Linked DNA regions of Homo sapiens: all the other regions are linked to region 3. The links are contacts of gene promoters, found by promoter capture Hi-C in human tissues and cell types (Jung and others, 2019). All regions are on one chromosome and are shown on one strand. The core of a region is centred on a gene start or on the middle of the fragment in contact, and the rest is flanking DNA. Distances in the headings are between cores, read along the strand shown.

Region 1 (2,726 bases), core at 82-2,581, 81 kb after region 3:
TCTCTAGATCCCCAGGGACGTACATCCCGCAACGCTAGCTTGGGCGGGACCTGAGTGCCAGCTGGGTGGCCAGAGGTGGGCGAATTTAAGGCAGATGGCAAAGCCATTCCCACCCCAGGGCCACTGGTCGGCACAGCTGGGCACAGCCCACCACCTGCCAGACCTTTCAGAGGGAATGCATCTCCCTCCAAGCCAGGTCCCAGCTGGGATCTTCCAGCTGAAGAGGTTTCCTTGGGCAGAAGCGAGAAGCGAATTGGAAGAAAGAGGCCCTGACCCTCCAGGAGGCTCCATTCTGCCTGTGGCCCTGAAAAAAGAGAGCAGGAAGGAGCAACTCTCACTTCTTCACAGCGACTTTGAGAAGTGGAAGACAGGGGCCGCTCCCCGGCTACAAACAAGAAGCCGATGGAAACCAACACCGTCCCCTCCAGCCTCATCTCCTCGCTCTTCAGAGTTTGCAGGGAGATGCATCACGAAGGCCCATGAAGCTGTAAAGATTAGTATTCCAACCCGGGCAGCAGGGTTTTAATTAGTCATTAGGCCCTTTCTGCAGAGCCATGCTGAACAGGCAAGGGCAGGGTGACCTTTCTCCGCCCAGCACTGTGGCAGCCTGTCTGCTTTGCAGGTGCACTTGGGACTCTGTCAAAACCGCTAAGAGGAGAGGACTGAGGCTGGGCCGGGAAGGAGGCCCTAGCCTCTCTGTTCCTGGGCATGGCCCCCACCACGGGGGCACTGCAGACCTTTGCTCCCATCTGGCTCTAGCTCACAGCTTGCACCCCTCATCCACAAGGGACACAGACAGTTGCTCACGTGATGGCTCTCCTAGCGAGCCCACGGGCAACGCCAGGAACAAGCCACCCAGGAGTTGAAGCACTTCCCTGGTGTGTGTGATGGGAGAGGGGAGGGAGCCGGCTTCCTGCAGCCAGTCCCCGCCGGATTCCAGGAAGGCGAGCGAACCCCTGCGGAAGGTCGGTTCTCAGCCAGGCATCTGGGACCCCCCTGCCAAGTTGCCCCTTCTTGGCCAAATGTCACCACATACCATAAAATCACAGAGAACCTTCCAGCTTGCCTGCCTTAGAAGCCAACCCTCCCAACCTCCTGGTTTCTCGAGGACAGTGAGGCCAAGAGCAGCTGCAACCAGGGGCGTGCAGAGGCCGGTGGCTGAGCTGGGGCCAGGACCCTGGACTATGGCTGTCTATTTACAACCCAAAATAAAACGCTAATTGCCACCAGCACCTGCTGACAAAGATTTCAAATCAGTGTCCTCACGAGGACTTCTCCTGGGGCTTCCTGCCAAGCTCATGATGTGCTTCTATCCAGTGGGTCAGCAGGCCCCGGTGTCTGAGGGCACAGCATTTCTTTCTGCCACTGCTCCGGATTATCTGCCCCAGTCTGGCCCCTCGGCTCCTGCCTCACCCACAGTGCCCCCAGGCCTCCCTCCCGTGGGCTGTTCGGCTCCTGTCTCCCACCTTCTCTCCACCTTGGCAGCCGTCCATGGCCACAGGCTTGCACCCGGGTCTTGCACTGAACGTCAACTCAGGTGCGAGGCTTTCCTTCCCAGCTTCACTGCAAACACTGCAGGCAGGCCTTGGGGTCATCTGGCTCAGCACACCACAGGGACCCCACTAGCTCTTATCCGCTGTATGGGGGTCCCATAGCCATGGGCTGGGCACTTCATAGGAAATGGACGTCTGTGACCTCCAAGGGGTTACAGACACACCCTCCGAGGGGAGGTGACAGAATGGCTGGAAGTCGCCACCACGATCACAGCCCGGAGCCACTGTGGGGACCTTGGTGCGTGTGCCCCGTTCGTGTTGTCACCAGTGCAGGTGCCCTGCACCTCCGCCTCTCAGGAGCAGCCACCCAGCTACAGTCTGAGCAATTGCACATCTGGCTCACTGCAGTTCCTTGTATGACAGCAAGGACAATGTAACAGGTTTCATGCCTTCTTGTCTGTGCTGTTAGTTCCTGATGCCAAGCCCTTCCCAGGAGGCTGAGGATCAGGCGGACTCTCAGGCCAGCAGCAGCAAGGTAGGAAGTCCTCCTGCCCCAGATGCCTCCAGCCTGCAGACTTCATAATAAATGGGAGGTTGGCTTTCCCAGCCAAAGCCATAAACTTTAATTGGGCTTTTTAAAGACCACAAAAGCAAATATATGCCCTTAAAGAAACCCTTTGGTAACTTGCTCAGAACATAAAGGTGACTATTAGCATGTGCTGATTTGAAATACCAAGAAGAAAATATCTCCCACATCAACATATGCTAGTGTAAGGCATGTCCTGTTTTGCATAGCTCTCACGGTTCCCCACCCTAACACTAGGGCCCGCCTGTCCTAGAGGGCAGCATGCTTGAAATCAGAAGACTGCATTTGGCCTGGCTCCACATGCCCCTTAACATTGTTCTTTTTTGTTTTCTTTGAGACAGGGCCTGTCGCCCAGGCTGGAGTGCAGTGGTGTAATCTTGGCTCACCACAACCTCCACCTCTCAGCAACCTCCGCCCCCCAGCAACCTCCACCTCCCGGCAAACTCCACCTCCTGGGTTCAAGCCATTCTTGTGTCTCAGCCTCCCGAGTAGCTGGGATTATAGGCATACGCCACCACACCCGGCTAGTTTTTGCATTTTTAGTAGAGAGAGAGTTTTGCCATGTTGGCCAGGCTGTTCTCGAACCCCTGACCTCAAGTGAGCCACCCACCTCGGCCTCCCTAAGTGCTGGGATTACAGCCATGAGT
Region 2 (2,700 bases), core at 3-2,502, 100 kb after region 3:
TTTATTTTTAAAAACTGCAACGTGTTTTCCATCTAAATTCACAGACCCAAGGGTAAAACCCCTGTTAGAGGCACCAGGCTGTAACCTCCATGCCCAGGCCAGTCTGCCTGGAGATGCGGGGCGGTGTCCGGAAAGCTGCAGGTATCGGCATCTGGAAATGACCCTGTATCTGAGGGGTGAAGTCAGCCCAGCGCAAGGCCTTGCACCTGGGGAGAGAGCCAGACAAAACCTTCCACCTTCCAGTGAAGAATAAAAACAACCCAGCTGTGTGATCCAGGGCATTTGCCGACTCCATAATTAACGAGGTGGGGGAGGCACCTTCTCAGCCTCTGCTGGAGGTGACATGGTGGGAGCTGGGTGGCCGGGGGGCAGGTGGGGGTGCCGGCGCAGAGGAGCTGAGGTTGAGCCTAGAATCTCAGCGACTTAGGAGATCCCAGGAGCCAGCCCTGGGAGAAAGGGGCCTTCCCAGGCCAGGGCCTCTCCTGGCACTTGCTGCCAGCAGGAGTGCCAGCTGACACTCTCCTGTGTGCACAGCAACTCAGCAAGGTGTACCCAGCCCTTAAAAACGCTCATCCTCTCAGCCAGCGAGTCCTCCTTCACAGCGACTATCCAAAGCAAGTAACCATGTGTAGGAGAACCTGTCTGCATTGCTCACTTGGGAAAAACAGCAAGACAGATTGTATTCAAGCCACTGGAGTAAGTGAAGGACTTTAGAACCAAGCTCAGTTCAGACGCAGTGAAGACAGCTGTGGATGCCCAGCCCACGAGCAGAGTGAGGGTCCGGGCTGGAAACCACTCACCTGGTTAGACACCAAGGGCAGGAGTTCCTGTTAAAGGCAGGCCGAGGATTTAGACATTGATGGTCAGGGGCGAGGAATCTGATCCAATGCAAAGGATGGGAGGGTTCTCAGTATAACAAGACTCAGCCAGCCATGGACACGAAGGCCAAGGTCAAGGCCTAGTTGAGACGGGGCTCAGCCCAGGCTCGCAGTGGGTCACGGAGGGAATCTGTGCCAGTCAGTTGCCTGCCCACAAAGGCTCACCACAAACCATGCTGGTCCCTCCGTGGGAGGATGGTTATACAGGGAGAATGATGATTATACAGGGAGGAGGGCCAGTGAGAGAATAATGGTTATACAGGGAGGTGGGATGGCGACAGGATGATGGTTATACAGGGAGAAGGGACGGCAAGAGGATGATGGTTACACAGGGAGGAGGGATGGCGAGAGGAAGATGATGGTTATACAGGGAGGAGGGATGGTGAGAGGATGATGGCTACACAGGGAGGAGCGACAGCGAGAGGACGACGGTTATACAGAGAGGAGGGATCGTAAGAGGAAGATGATGCTTATACAGGGAGGAGGGATGGCTAGAGGATAATGATGGTTACACAAGCGGGATGGCGAGATGATGATGGCTATACAGGTAGGAGGGATGGTGAGAGGAAGATGATGGTTATACAGGGAGGAGGGATGGTGAGAGGAAGATGATGGTTACACAGGGAGGAGGGACGGCAAGAGGATGATGATGGTTACACAGGGAGGAGGGACGGCAAGAGGATGATGATGGTTACACAGGGAGGAGGGATGGTGAGAGGAAGATGATGGTTACACAGGGAGGAGGGACGGCAAAAGGATGATGATGGTTACACAGGGAGGAGGGACGGCAAGAGGATGATGATGGTTACACAGGGAGGAGGGATGGTTATACAGGGAGAAGGGATGGCGACAGGATGATGGCTATACAGGCAGGAAGGATGGCGAGAGGAAGATGATGGTTACACAGGGAGGAGGGACGGCGAGAGGATGATGGTTATACAGGGAGGAGGGATGGCAAGAGGATGATGGCTATACAGAGAGGAGGGACAGCGAGAGGGTTATGATGGCTACACTGGGAGGAGGGACGGCGGGAGGACGATGATGGTTATACAGGGAGGAAGGATGGCGAGATAATGATCATTCCACGGGGAGGACGGACAGTGAGAGGATGGTGGTTATACAAGGAGGGCAGTAGGAGCTGCGTTTTCTTTTAAATTATCTAAATGTTTAAATTTATCTTTTTTAAAAAATTAAGAGAAATTATTTAAATGACAGGCAGCTGCTCAAAGATTCCACTGAAGTGGAAGGGTGCCCCCATCTTTACAGCAGAACGAAGGAATCCTGCACATCAGGGCTGGGTGGGCTGTGGCTGGAGAGTCAGGCTGGCTAGGCCAGGAGAGGCTCAGGATAGCCGTCCGCAGCCAGCACCCTCGTGCTGGTGCCTTGGACTGTGCGTCCTCACAAACAGCCGAATCCTGCCTTGTTCCTTTCCCAGGGCTGTTGTAGCAAAAGACCATGAATGAGGGGCCTTCAACCCCCAGGAATTCCTTCCCTTGCTGCCCAGAGGCCGGGAGCTCAACATCCAGGTCAGTGGGGCGTCACCCCAGTCTCTGCTGCCATCTTCCGCGTGTGTCTCCGGAACCCCCTTCCCCTCCTAAGGCCACCCCCCCTCAGTACAACCTCATCTCAACCTGACTACACCTGAAAGACCCTGTTTGCAAATGAGGTCTCTTTTGCAGGTATTGGGAACTAGGACTTCCCCATATCTTTCTGGGGGACAGAGTTCAACCCCACGACACCCACTAAATGCCTGTATTGCTCCTGTAGCCCCTGGAAAAGAGCCATGAACAAAACACACCCTGTTTGTCCTTGGGCAGCTTAT
Region 3 (2,700 bases), core at 53-2,552:
TCAGGACTTTGAGGAAGATGCCCCCAAGCCATCTTTCTAGGTTCCATATCTGCATCTCCATGGAGCCTGTGTCTTCCCCAGGTTCATCCCTGGACCTCATCTGCATCTGGCATAGCCTTAATTAAGTCTTGAGAGGTCTGCCCTAAACACCACGGAACCCGAGGGGGGTCTTAACTAGTCATAGTCTCAGGACCACACATCTCCATGGGCATTGAAGGAAAATCCGATGGGATTTTGTTTCTCGCGTGGCTTTGCTGGGCTGGGGTCACAGTTTAAAATCCTTCTACTGATCTTGCCAAGGAAGAAGGCACCTCGGCATCCCGATGGCAGCAGGTGGCAGGGTGCGGTGGTGGTAGTGGGAGGTGCAGTGCTGGTTCCGTCTCTGGGGGCTTTAGGTATACGGCCTCTGGGGCCCCACCTGCTACTGTCTCTGTCTCTAACCTGGCTCAGTCCAAGGCGAGAGTGCACCTTCAGGCCAGCTCTTCTCCAAAAGGCGAACACAACCACTGAAGTAAGTCCACAGCCATCCTACAGGTGGGATGTCTGGCCTCAGGGCTCAGGGGGTTCCCTGGGCCCTAGGAGTGAAATTCACCTACTCTCATCCTCCCTACAGGCTAAGCCCCTGCATTCACACTCAAGGTCTCCCCTTCAGATGTGTACCTGGGTCATAGTCCCCCAGGCTCCCCACTCTTCTCTCCTTTCCCTCCTGTTCATGTGCCCCTGTGCTCTACATACTGCCCCAGGAAACAGTGGACACACACGCATTTTCCTCTCCTTTTCACCCTGGCAGCCTGCCTGGACCTCATAGTGGCAGTTTCCAAGCCTCCTGAGGAGAGTCCCAAGTCTGCTCATGATGTGGTGAGGGTTACTGTGTAAGGCCCACACCAGTGGCCCATGACCAGCCCTGGCCATGAGGACTCTAGGTATTCGGATAAGGGAGAGAGACCTCTTTGAAGCAGAACATCTTTAGCAAACCCTTCCTTGTTCCCCGTTCTCAGCTCATGGTGACATCTGCTCACCGCTGAACAAAGGTGGGAGGATGGGCCTGGGCTCTTTGCCCAAGGCCACAAGCAAGTCAGCCTGTTCCCTGGAAGGAGACCGTCCCCCTGCAGGGATGACAGTCGCCATGGGATCCCCAAGGGGCGGGGGGTAGGGAGCAGCCCTGGAGATGATCTCGCACCTCCTGCTGGCGTCACCAAGCCCGCGGAGAGGAAGCGGCTGTCACTCGGAAGATGAGAAATTGGAGTCTGAGGGAGGCTGGCTTCTCTAGCCCTATAAGAGGGCAGGCACCTTTTGAAGCAAAGACCAGAAGAGATGGAGCTGGACAGAGCTGTGGGGGTCCTGGGCGCTGCCACCCTGCTGCTCTCTTTCCTGGGCATGGCCTGGGCTCTCCAGGCGGCAGACACCTGTCCAGGTAAGGGCACTCCAGGGCCTCCTCCTGGAAACTTCTCGTCCCTGAAAGCTGGCAGCTTCGTGATTGGTGGCTTCCTGGCTTCCAGGCCTTGCACCAGGCCGTGTGGAGCATCGTCTAACGAGACAGCAGCTCTGCATGCCTCATCTTATGTGAACAAACGCAGAGGCCCCGAATGGATGTGGCATCTCAGAGACGGAGCTTCCTCTGCTTGCCCTCCCATAATGGAAACCGAGGCAGGTTTCCAGTCTCCCTGGGCCACATGTCCCCCTCTAAGCGTAAAAAGCGTAGTCATGGTGTTGTGTGGGGAGGTGAGGCTTGTGGTGCCAGCTGGGTAGACACCAGTCAGATATTCTGCCATGGTCGCCATCACAGAGAGACAGGGTGTGAGGTGGGGATAAGCACCCGGAAAGACAGGGTGTCAGGCGGGGATGAGCACTGCAGGACCTTTCCATCCAGGACCTGCTGGGCTCTGGAGATGGCAGTTCCCATGGTGTCCCTGATGCGGCACAATAAGGGTGGCATTGTCCCCGTGAGTTCTGGACCTCCTTCGGGGCTCCCGAGGGGACACTCGGGTGCCAAACCATGGGCTCCGGCGCATGCGAGGGCAGGTTGAAAATGCAGGTTCTGGAGTCAGGTCCTGACTCCGTCTACCCGGGGCTGGGATGCAGGGTCAGGAATTTGTGATGCTCCTGATGCTTGCAGAGATTCGTGTCAGGATTTCTGGAATGCATGTGAGACACAGAGCTCTGCGGTGTGCTGTGACTAGCATCGCATTCAAGGAGCAATCCGTGGCGTGAAGTGTGACACAGGCCAGGAACAGCGGGGATTCGCTTGGAAACTCCTAGTGGCTCGTTGTGGAGTGGTGGGGTTAGGGTGGCATTATTTTCTTCCTTAAATACTTCTAGAGTTTCTAAATGATCAAATAATAGCACGTGTTATTTTTGTAACACACTCACTTGAATTTGAGTTATCTAATTAAAAACAACAAGCTGCATTCCAGCTCTAGTTTCGCACCAACTTGTTCAGTGTCCTTGAAGGACGCCTCCCTCTGTGGAGGAACAAGGTGGACCCACAGGAGCCCATCCACTCTCAGATCTGCTCCAAGATCAGGCGTGGGAGTTGCAATGGTAGCCTCTCTCCCTGTGTCCTTCTCACCCGATATTGATTACAATGATATGATAGATGAGAACAGACGAGATTAGGATGCTGTCTTAAATGGTAGGAGCTGAAATGAACCTGCACCCCTCGGTAGGTAAGGGAACAGAGGCTCAGAGGGGTTAAGGGAC
Region 4 (2,700 bases), core at 1-2,500, 78 kb before region 3:
ACTCTCTCTTCACAGGGTTTCCAAGGCAAGACCGGCCCTCCAGGCCCCCCCGGCGTGGTCGGCCCTCAGGTAAGCTCCAGCCTTCCCAGATTCCATGGGTCACTCGGTGTCACTTGCCCACAGGGAAGAGGGTCCCAGCCCGGGCATCTGTTCCCTCCACGATTCCGGAGGTGCAGGTACTGCTGAGAGGTTATCTTAGGTCCTGAATGTTGGTCAGCGTGAGGCTCGCCCCACGCAGGAGCAAGCACAGATGTGTTTGCCCTCAACACAAACCCAACACGCAGGGCAAGGAAGGCTGCCCAAGGCTCACAGGGTGGCTGGGGCCAGACCTGGGCCAGCTCAGGAGCTGGGCTCATCCCTGCTGTGGGTGTCCAAGGCAGCCGAGTCCTCCTGCCACTGGTCCCTGTGGGTGTCACGGGCCTGCGATTCTAACCGCAGACCAGTGGCAGATCAGTGTCAGGGGCAGCTTAGAGCCAGGATTGATGGCTTAGAGCTGCAGAACGGGGAGGGGTCACCTTGTGTCCTAGAAAGCGCACACCTCATGTAGCGGTGAGTAAGACGTAGACCTGCTGCAGCCACAGAACTGAAGGGCATGTGGGCTCTGCCCCTGGTGTGGCTTTTCTCCCATCCTTGGCCTGTCCTGTGGCTGAATCAGCCTCCCTCAGGGCACATCCCAGGAAGGCAGGCTTGGCCGTGCCTCCTGAAGGCGCCAGGTGGGGGAAGAGGGCCACGCGGGGCCCAGCAGATGCCAGGCAGTGAGCAGCGTACCAACACCCACCCTCTAGATTTTTGCCGGGAAGAGAAGGCTTGCAAAGGCACTTGGAGGTTTGGTGTGCCCGCAGCAGACCTTTGCGTCCATGACCAGGGCTGTCCTTAGATTTAGGAAGAGATTCTCACTCCCTTGCAAGTCACTCGAAACGTCTGTGGCTGACACTGATTTTCCCCACAGGGTCCCACGGGAGAAACGGGCCCAATGGGTGAGCGTGGCCACCCTGGGCCCCCTGGACCCCCCGGTGAACAGGGGCTTCCGGGCCTTGCTGGAAAAGAAGGGACGAAGGTGAGTTTCTGGAGCCTTCTGTGTCAGCTCAGGCGTTTCCTCAGGAATCATTTTGGGACTTTGTGTTTTTCTTGCCCTTTTCTGATGAATGGGTAATTCGTCAAACAGACGCTTCTCATGCCGGTTCACTCCCCAGACCGCACGTTTTGCTCACTTTTCCTTGATTCACTCCAGGAGTCGCGCTGACCTGCTCAGGGATGGGCTTGAAGGGGGAGCGCAGGGGTCACCACCATCCTCCACCCTCTGCTCTCTCCCCAGCTGCCAGCCCTGCTCCCAGAAATGGATAAAAAGCTCTGGGACTTCATGTGTCCATAACACGTTTAGCAGAAAGTGGTCCTTTTAAAAACCCCTCACCCCAGCCAGGTGCAGTGGCTCACGCCTGTAATCCCAGCACTTTTGGAGGCTGAGGCAGGTGGATCACCTGAGGTCAGGAAGTTGAGACCAGCCTGGCCAACATGACGAAACCCCATCTGTACTAAAAATACAGAAATTAGCTGGGTGTGGTGGTGCGCACCTGTAATCCCACCTACTTGGGAGGCTGAGGCAGGAGAATCGCTTGAACCCGGGAGGCGGAGGTTGCAGTGTGCCAAGATCGTGCCAGTGCACTCCAGCCTGGTTAACACAAATGAAACTCTGTTTTTAAAAACAAAAAACAAAAAACACAGTGAAACCCCGTTTCTACTAAAAATACAAAAAAATTAGCTGGGTGTGGTGGCGGGCGCCTGTAGTCCCAGCTACTCGGGAGGCTGAGGCAGCAGAATGGTGTGAACTCGGGGGGCGGAGCTTGCAGTGAGCCGAGATCGCGCCACTGCACTCCAGCCTGGGCGACAGAGCGAGACTCCATCTCAAAAAAAAGAAAAAAAAACAGCCCTCACCCCAAGAGCCTGAGAAATTATAAAAGTGAAAAGCAAACGTGTTTTTATCCCACCTCTTGGTGCCAGCTCCAACTGCCCCCTTTTCATATCTCCTCCCCTGGGCGCCCCAGGTTCACTGGCCATAACTTGCTGTGTTAGCACAAAAATAGCCCTTCCCTTTCAGCTCTTCAATAAGGAATGCAACAAAGGCAAGCTCTCCAGCCTGTAGGACCACAGAAGAGTAAACCTGAAAAATAATAAAGTGAAGCAAATGAAGAAATACTGAAAAAAATCACACACCCGGGTGTGCATGTAGATATAGGAATAAATACACATGTGTACATGCACACGTGTGTGTATTCTAGACACAAAGAGAGCTCTCCGAGCTTGGAAAGGCGGCCACGGGCATTTGACCTGCTCGTTTGAAAACAGCACTGTGCTCCATGTTGGACCCCAGAGAACATTTTGGAAGATATCAAAGCTTTACTGTACCTCAGGGAAAGTCGAGGCTAAGGGGTGACTTTTTTTCAGAAAATGTGGTTTCGGGCTTGAAGAAGTTCCTTAAGTGATAAGTCCATTTAGGACGATGCTTTTAATGCTATTTCGACCATGGATTTCTTTGTCTGAGCACGGTCTTACAAGGAGCCCCAAATCTATGGAAAAGATAGACGTGCCCTCAGCTCCCACATGGCCCATCGTAGCCCTTAAGGGCCTTGGGAGGAAGGACCCCGGAACTCCGTGGAGCAGGGGTAGAGTCAGATTTGCACGCAGAGCCCGCCAGATGAGCGT

What was found. Contacts are between HindIII fragments. The study calls those that stand out against the background at their distance.
Region 1: a contact is called between a fragment that was not itself captured here and the fragment with the promoter of FCN2 in region 3, in 3 of the 25 tissues and cell types used here (lymphoblastoid cells, spleen and thymus).
Region 2: a contact is called between a fragment that was not itself captured here and the fragment with the promoter of FCN2 in region 3, in 2 of the 25 tissues and cell types used here (mesendoderm cells and thymus).
Region 4: a fragment that was not itself captured here is called in contact with the fragment with the promoter of FCN2 in region 3 in 3 of the 25 tissues and cell types used here (dorsolateral prefrontal cortex, spleen and thymus).

What each region holds. Positions count from the first base shown.
Region 1 is chr9:134,960,169-134,962,894 of GRCh38, forward strand. No RefSeq gene overlaps it. Among named protein-coding and RNA genes, the nearest start is that of FCN1, 44 kb to the left of the region's middle. The HindIII fragment of the contact is 9,903 bases long and covers 1-2,726 here.
Region 2 is chr9:134,980,272-134,982,971 of GRCh38, forward strand. No RefSeq gene overlaps it. Among named protein-coding and RNA genes, the nearest start is that of FCN1, 64 kb to the left of the region's middle. RefSeq lists an enhancer at 2,217-2,700. The HindIII fragment of the contact is 4,934 bases long and covers 1-2,700 here.
Region 3 is chr9:134,879,508-134,882,207 of GRCh38, forward strand. It overlaps FCN2 (ficolin 2), which reads left to right and starts at 1,303. Exons shown (of 8, transcript NM_004108.3): 1 at 1,303-1,414. The coding sequence starts at 1,315. The HindIII fragment of the contact is 19,799 bases long and covers 1-2,700 here.
Region 4 is chr9:134,801,939-134,804,638 of GRCh38, forward strand. It overlaps COL5A1 (collagen type V alpha 1 chain), which reads left to right. Exons shown (of 66, transcript NM_000093.5): 38 at 16-69; 39 at 950-1,057. Among named protein-coding and RNA genes, the nearest start is that of MIR3689C, 46 kb to the right of the region's middle. The HindIII fragment of the contact is 5,990 bases long and covers 1-2,700 here.